Regions from separate parts of the Homo sapiens genome. Here region 1 is linked to region 2. The links are contacts of gene promoters, found by promoter capture Hi-C in blood cells and fetal thymus (Javierre and others, 2016). All regions are on one chromosome and are shown on one strand. Each heading gives the region's core, a stretch centred on a gene start or on the middle of the fragment in contact. The rest is flanking DNA. Distances are from core to core; before and after follow the strand shown.

Region 1 (4,183 bases), core at 1,240-3,739, 3.0 Mb before region 2:
ATTTCTGTCCTTTGTGTTAAGCTACCAGAGCAAGTGAAGGAGCAAAGCCAGGTGGCGGCTGGATCAGGCAGGTTCACGCTGTGGCTCCCCACATGCGGGGTAAGCAGTGGCCCCTGTGGGGGTCAGAGAGCATTTTTCTGGCCGCAGGGGTAATGTTGCAGGGAGGGGTGCAGCTGCCTCTGCTGCACAGAAGTCTCTCTACAGGGGTTGGGGAGTAGCAGGCGGCAGTAAGCCCCACCAGCGCCCATGCACTTGGCAAGGCCGGTCCCTCACCCGCAGGGTTCCGCTTGCAGCAGCTCGTTAGAATCCAGGCAGTCCGCATTCAGAACTCAAGACTGCCCCATGCCATAAGCCTTCCTGAAGGAGAGAACAACCAATGCTTTCAAGCCACGCCCCTCCCAGTCTGCCCGTGAAGCAGGGGCGCCCAGCTCCTGCACCCGTGGCTGCAGCACATTTCCCAGTCACTCCTTGGTTCTGCCCAAGGGGGTTTGTCCCCATTCGGCATTATATTGTGAACCCAGTTGGGAACTTCTGCCAACCTGTGACTGCTGTCTGAGTTAGCTGGCAGATTTCTGCACAGTCCTCTGTGAGGTAGGGTCGGGAATGTCTTCCCTCCATCCTCACTGGAGCCTGGGAGTGCATGCAAAGCCCGTCCCAATGATGCTTTTTCTCATACATTCCCCACTGCTCACTAAAATCAGCTCCATTGCTGGATAGGGTTAAGTTCTTCCCTCATGGGCCTCTATTGCCAGATTCCCAAGTGGGAGTGTATGTTCCAGAGGCAATTTATTCCTCTTTCACTCTGGGGAACTTAGTTTTCCACTGGCTTATGGTGTAGGCTGCAGCCCAGTGCTTCTTTCAAAGGGTCAGTGGCTTCTTTCAGTTCTCCTGTTAAGTTCCTGTGTTGCTTCTAGGAGAAAAGTTCACAGTGTGTGAGTCTCTACACACTATCTTGTCTTTCCAAGTGGAAGAGGCATGCTAACACTGCCTCCAATCTGCCATCTTGGGAGCAACAGAGTGAGAACTTGTCTCTTAAAAAAAAGGTGGGGAGGCCGGGCGCGGTGGCTCACGCCTGTAATCCCAGCATTTGGGAGGCCAAGGCAGGCAGATTATGAGGTCAGGAGTTCGAGGCCAGCCTGGCCAACATGGTGAAACCCCATCTCTACTAAAGATATAAAAAATTAGCCGGGCGTGGTGACGCCCGCCTGTGATCCCAGCTACTCAGGAGGCTGAGGCAGGAGAATCGCTTGAACCTGGGAGGTGGAGGTTGCAGTGAGCAGAGATAGCGCCATTGCACTCCAGCCTGGGTGACAGGGTGAGACTCTGTCTCAAAAAAAAAAAAAAAAAAAAAAGTGGGAGGGGAAGCGGTCTTTTGTTTTAGAGATATCTGCTTTAATATGTATGAACAAATATCAGTGATTTGCTGACAAAATGATTTGTCAGTGATTTACTTCAAAGTAATCTAGTGATGCAGGTAAGAGGGCTGAGGGATAATGATGAAAGGAAAATGGGAGGGGTTATAGATGAAACAAGTTTGGCCATGAGCTGATTATTATTGAAGCTAGGTGATGCCTACAAGGGGATCCATACATTATTTTCTCTTTGCAATACAATCCTGACCTGGAGTAAGGTCAAATTTCACAGGTTAAGGGAACAGCCACTCACAGGATGCCTCTTACCCCAGATACCAGCTGTTATATGTTCCAGGGTTCCTGAGCCACCGGTGCTTCTGACCAACTGACCACAAATGCAGGGATTCCCACTAACTCCTCAGGTTTAATAATGGACCAGAACAACTCACAGAATGCAGGCACGCACTATACTTAGGCTTAGTGTTTCATTATAAAAGACACAAACCAGGGACATCCAAATGAAAAGGTGCAGGGAGCAAAGTCTGGGAGGGTCCCAAATTCAAAGCTTCTTTATGCTCAGGACCTGTCATCCTCCTGGCACACTGATGTATGATTATCAACCTGGAAGTTTCCCCTAGCTTTCATGTCCAGAGTTTTTATTTGGGTTTTATTTTGTAGGCATGATTGGTTGAATCATTGGCAGTGTGATCGAATTCAGTCTCCAGCCCCCTGCTCCTTCCTGGGGGTCAGAGGTCAGAAGTCAGGCTGATATCCACATTGCTCAAAGCCCCAACCCTCCAGTCACATGGATGGCTTTTGTGGCATGTCCAGCCCCTATCCTGAGTGATATCATTAACATAAAGTCAGGCATGATCTGAGGATATTATTTCATAGAAATACAGCCTTCCACAAACGTTGGAACTGGTTAAAGAGTCTCTGTAAGACTGTAGTCCTTTCATCTGGTACTGGAGCTTGAAGTCCAGAGGGCAGAGAGTTGGAAAGCGACAATGGATATAAAGTGAGGAAGATCAAGAAAAGACTGGAACCCACAGCATGAACTAGAACCCAGCAGGACAAATTGAAACTCATGTCAGTTCATATTCCTTCTGGTGTTGATAGTGGGGACCCAACCTCATGGAACTAAACACACACACACCAGGCCCAGGAGTCAGGGAAGCTGAGGGAAAACCCAGTGGAAGGTAGAGCAGGCCCAGCTGCCGCTTCATGCTGATGAGGTGAGTCAGCAGATCAGCAACAATGTGTGTGAGCTACAAAATGACTGCAGCTTCCCATCTGCTTTCTGAATCTCACAAGAATCTCCCTCATGGCCCACCATAACCAGAAACATACAAGAAACAAAATTGTGGAAAACGTAGTTCAGCTTAGCCAAGTCAATACATTACAAGGCCACCACACCACACTTAATAAAAAGTAAACATTTGTAAATCAATCAACCAGTGCCTGGAAGTACTTATTTAAGAGCCAAATTATTTCACAAAGTAAACTGAAACACACCTGGTGAATCCCACCCACCACTGGATACATATTTGCATTGCCACCCATTATTCCTTCCCTCTTCTCCTGTAAGAGAATACGATCTCCTACCAATTCTCCCTCCACCTTTTATTCTCTCTCAGTAATCATGCTTCATCAATTAACTTCTGTCTCTGGCTGTTCTTTATCTTCAGCTTCTTTTTTTTTAAGCTTCCCATGATTCTGTAAATCCCTATAGCAAATAACTTTTTTTTCTCTTTTCCATTACAGCCAAGTGTTGAGTACAAAAAGTCTATTTATGCTATCGTTACTTCTATAATGTGATTTTTCTGTAGTATTTGAGAATATTCAATTCTTCTGAAATTAACAAGAGAAACAAACAAGTAGAACAATAGGTGACACTCATAAAACATGTTGAGGAATGATAGCAAATGTACTAAGTTAGAAATCTTTTAGGTTAAACATAAATAGCATATACAGAACATATGTTTGGTAAGCATAGATTAAAAGAATGGAAATACCAAGTGTGCTACTTGTAGATAGGAAAGGATAGAAGGACCAAGTAAACCTAAAATATTAGTAAAATCACAGATCATGTATCCTCCTGAATGACAGCTATGTCATATTTAAATCAGCTGCTGAATCGTGACAGCTATTCTTGCCCCAGGTGACCTCTGTCCAAGATATGCAGATAAATCCACAGCTCCTCAGCACTTCATTGGTGAATTTCAGTTGTGCACAGGCTCCTTGTCCTCCATCTCTTTGAAAGAGGAAGCATGTGTTGGCTTCAGGCACCTTCAATTTGCTGAGTCTCCTTGCTCACCCTTGACTCTGGTCACTGCATCAGACCATGCCATCAGTAGGAAATTCTGATGTGTCTTTGTAGGTGAGAGAGATAGGATATGAACATTGTGTGACTCAGGATTTTTTTTGTATGGCTCTTACATCCAACTTGGATCCTATCCTTAGTGTGATAACTTATCTCAGTTTCCACTTGCTTCTTGCTTTGTGTTTAAAATTTACACATAGGCTGGACATGGTGGCTCAAACTTGTAATTCTAGCACTTTGGAAGGCTGAGGTGGGAGGACTGCTTGAGCCCAGGAGTTCAAGACCAGCCTGGGCAACATAGCGAGACCTTGTCTCTAAAACAAAAATAAAAACAAAAAATTAGCTGAGCATGCTAGTGTGTGCCTGTAGTCCTAGCTACTAGGGAGTTTGAGGTGGGAGGATTGCTTAAGCCCAGGAGGATGAGGCTGCAATGAGCCATGATGACACCACTGCACTCCAGCCTGGGTGACAGAGCAAGACCCTGTCTCAAAAAAGAAAAGAAAACATA
Region 2 (4,040 bases), core at 100-2,599:
AACAGAGTTTCACTCTTGTCGCCCAGGCTGGAGTGCAATGGCACGATCTCCGCTCACTGCAACCTCCGCCTGCCGGGTTCAAACCATTCTCCTGCCTCGGCCTCCTGAGTAGCTGGGATTACAGGTGCGTGCCACCACGCCCGGCTAATTTTTGTATTTTTAGTAGAGACAGCGTTTCACCATGTTTGCCATACCTCAGGTGATCCACTCCTGACCTCAGGTGACCCACCTGCTTCGGCGTCCCAAAGTGCTGGGATTACAGGCGTAAGCCACCGCGCCTGGCCTCTATTTTAACTTTATGGCCAGTCAGCTATCTCCTCTAAATCACAAAAGGGAGAGGGTATAACCAGGTCCGTCTGACCTCCCATCCCGTTATGACTGGGAACTCAGTTGTTAAGATTTTGCTGGTGTCCCCTTGGCCTCACGGGGGTCTGTTCAGTTGTTGGGGGGCTTAGGATTTTAAATTTACAGACTTCGAAGAAGGGAACAAGATACACGTGTGAGGGAATAAGAGGAAGTTACCCGAGTCTGAGTCAGTGCTTCCTTCTCCACCGTGTAACTCCAACTTAGAGTTACTGCCACTCGGCTTCTATCGGCCACGTCTCTCCTGGGAAGGCAGGCAAGGGACGAAATGGAGGGAGACAAGGTTTTCGCTAGGGAAGCCTCGGCCCAGGACGCAGCGCCACCCGTTTTCCAATCAGCGCCGGGCACTGCATTCCTCCTAGGTCTCTTTCTTTCAGTAGAGACCTTTTAATAATAAATACTACTTACATTGCTTTACAGTTCACACTTGCGGTCATTATTTCAGTGGAGCTTTTCAACAGCTCTGTGAGACAGGTATTATTTCTATTTCGGAGCAGAGAGAACAGCGCCCTTGAGCCACAGGGCTCATACATCCGGAGCCTATCACCACTCCGCATCTTAAGCTCCCGGGATGACCGCGGACTGGCGGCCCAGGACCACTGCTCCAGCTGTTTCCCCAGGTAATCCACCTGCCTTGGGTTACCTTTTAGCGCGGCCCAGTTAGCCGCAACCAGCCACCATTTACCCGCTTTCCCCAAACCAGGAAAACCACAGAAACGCATGTGCGCGGCCAGTCTCTTCCACGCCCGGGAACGCAGAGCTTACAGACCAAGGCCGCCCAAGTCCCCTCACCCCAAAGGCTACCCAAGAACCCCGAGTAGGCTGTTTGGCTGACTCAGGCGCCCAACGCCCACCCGAACTGAGTCGCTAGGGAAACTCCCAACTGCCAGCTCGCCCGACCGGTGTTCACAGGCCACTCTAGCCGGGCTCAGAGAGACCGCAGTCTCGTTGCTCCTGGCTTGACGTCATCGGCAGGCGCCGCAGCGCAGTGGCGGGCACGCGCAGCCGAGAAGATGTCTCCGACGCCGCCGCTCTTCAGTTTGCCCGAAGCGCGGACGCGGTTTACGGTGAGCTGTAGAGGGGAGGGTGCAGGCCTGACCCGGCGCTATGCTTTGTCCTCTTCTCCCTGAAATTACTCGAATTTTGCCCTGGGGTAAAGTGAGACAGAGGTGTGTCCGCCTCAGCGTCCGCTCCGGGCCCCGTCGGAGGTTGAGGGGTAGGGAAAGACGCACTACCCGCCTCTTCTTTGTGGGCTGGGCCGTCCGCCTCCGCCCACCCTCCAGCGGGTCCCCGGACTGCGTGCTGGGCGCCTCGGCTCCCCGCTTGGAGTGCCCACCTGCAGACTACTGCTGGTTGGGTCCATCCTCTCAGCTCGTTTAGTGGGGCAGGTGTCTCGAGAAGGGGAAGGGGAGCTGCTGAAGGGGGAGGGTGGGAGTGGTTTCAGTCCAAAGACCTGGCTCCCGCCCTAGCCTTCTGAGCTACCAAGTGCTTGTTCCCGCCGTCTCTTCACCACCCCTTAACCCACCGTGTCTAACTCCTAAGCGATCGATGAGATCCTAAGCGGGAAAAGGCAGATAGATCACCTTGGGAAGGGTAACCAGATGCTATTTTATTCTTGCTCAATGTGGAAGGGTGGTTTTGAGCATTTGGGAAACACTTGACAGATCACTTTCTCATTTAACTATTAGAGTAACACTGTGAAGTAGGCTAAGTTGGTTATTCCTGGTACATGAGGTAGAAGCTGACACCCCCCAAAAAGTTGTGACTTCAGTGGTTTTTCTGACTTTAGACACTCTGTTCTTTTTATGTTGCTCGTCACAGCAACGTAAGTATGAAGAACACTTTTAAGTTGCCTGACTCTATTCGTCTCTAGCATTTGCACCAACATTTCTCAGATATTCGGCTGTGTTTTGGTAGTTATAGGGATGCCAGGATGAAAATTGTGTGAAAGAAAAATTCATCCTTTGTAGTAAGTAGTTTTCTTGTTTGCAGGGTTATATATATATATATATACATATATATACGTATACGTATAATATATATATACACACACACACAGTGTGAGGTTTTTTTTAAATGGATTATATTTTGTGTATGTCATCATAATCATTTTCTTTGTGTGCGTTTTGCTGCAATCTCTGGTGCTTTGAAAGCCTGCTAAGAGTAACTGTTAGGACTATCCAAGATCATATTGGCGGCCGGGCGCAGTGGCTCACGCCTGTAAATGCAGTACTTCGGGAGGCCGAGGCGGGCGGATCACCTGAGGTCAAGAGTTCAAGGCCAGCCTGGCCAACATGGCAAAGCCCCGTCTCTACTAAAAATACGAAAATTAGCCAGGCGTGGTGGTGGGCGCTGTAATCCCATCTACTTGGGAGGCTGAGGCAGGAGAATCGCTTGAACCCGGACAGCGGAGGTTGCAGTGAGCCAAGATCATGCCAGTGCACAACACCTGGGCAACAGAGGGAGACTCCATCTCAAAAAAAAAAAAAAAAATCATACTAGCCCTGAAAAGGACCATGAAATTGGAGATCATCTAGTTCAGTGTTTCTCAAGCTTCTTGTGAAATGCAGATTCTTGTTCAGTAAGTGTGGAAGGGAGCCTGAGATTTTGCATTTCTACCAGCTTCCTAGGTGATGCCACTGTAGCTGCTGCTGGTAGTAAAAATCTACAAAAACCCTCTTATTTAACTGGTGACGAAAATGAAGCACAAAGAGATAAAGGAACAGGCCCCAAATTACTCAGCCTGTTAGTGGCAGAGCAAGGAATGGACACATTTAGGATAGATCTAATTCCTGTGAGGTAATAAGATGACTTTCTAAGTGTATGTGAGTGTTCATAGAATGAATGCCTTTTGCAATATTTTTGTCTTTAAGTTATGATTACTTTAAAACAATCTACAGATTGTCAGCATGGTTTTATTGAGTGCTACGTGTCAGGGACTGAACAAGATACCTCCAGGAGGCGAGACCTGACATGGGTGTGGGAGAATGGATAGAATTTGGATGAGCAGGTAGGAAGAGCAACATGAATGTGTGAATACAGTAGAATGAGTTTGATATAAAGTGATGAAAAATGGCTAGACTTTAGTGCAAAGTATGTGTTAGGGAGTATTGGGAATTAAGTTTGGGTAAATTGGGATAACATTATCAAGGACCTTGAGGGATCTATGAAGCTTCAAAACTAAAACGGGCAAATAAGGAGCCATATGGAGATTTTTTTTTTTTGTAAGCACAATACTCATGAATGTGATATTTAAAGAGACAGAAATATCACCTAGAATGAAAAAGTCCAGCAAGGAAGCTCTTGCCAGATTTAAAGTGATGAGGATCCGTATCATGAAGTAGCATTGGAATAAGGATTACTGAGAGAATGACTGATAGGTAATTTTTCCCAGGTATAAGCATTTTTTAGTTAGTAAGATACACTATCAATGAACGATATATTTTTCAGCAAATAATAAGCAAAATCTTTACAATTATTTGCCATTTTAATTTTTTTTTAGAAGTCTACCAGAGAGGCCTTGAACAACAAAAACATCAAGCCATTGTTAAGTACCTTCAGCCAGGTACCTGGCAGGTAAGGCATTGATATCTATGAAAAATACTTGCCTCAATCTTTATACATACCCTGAGCTGTTTGAAAAATGAGGATGTCTTTTGTTTTTAATAGTGAAAATG

Evidence for each region. The method cuts DNA at HindIII sites, captures the fragments that hold promoters and counts their contacts. A CHiCAGO score of 5 or more calls a contact.
Region 1: a fragment that was not itself captured here is called in contact with the fragment with the promoter of THOC1 in region 2 in 1 of 17 cell types (total CD4 T cells); the score reaches 6.0 in total CD4 T cells.

The regions. Positions count from the first base shown.
Region 1 is chr18:3,293,281-3,297,463 of GRCh38, reverse strand. No RefSeq gene overlaps it. Among named protein-coding and RNA genes, the nearest start is that of MYL12-AS1, 33 kb to the right of the region's middle. RefSeq lists enhancers at 179-258, 2,419-2,713. The HindIII fragment of the contact is 1,139 bases long and covers 1,920-3,058 here.
Region 2 is chr18:265,356-269,395 of GRCh38, reverse strand. It overlaps THOC1 (THO complex subunit 1), which reads left to right and starts at 1,349. Exons shown (of 21, transcript NM_005131.3): 1 at 1,349-1,430; 2 at 3,866-3,939; 3 at 4,033-4,040. The coding sequence starts at 1,377. RefSeq lists a silencer at 441-620 and an enhancer at 1,011-1,480. The HindIII fragment of the contact is 5,170 bases long and covers 1-2,918 here.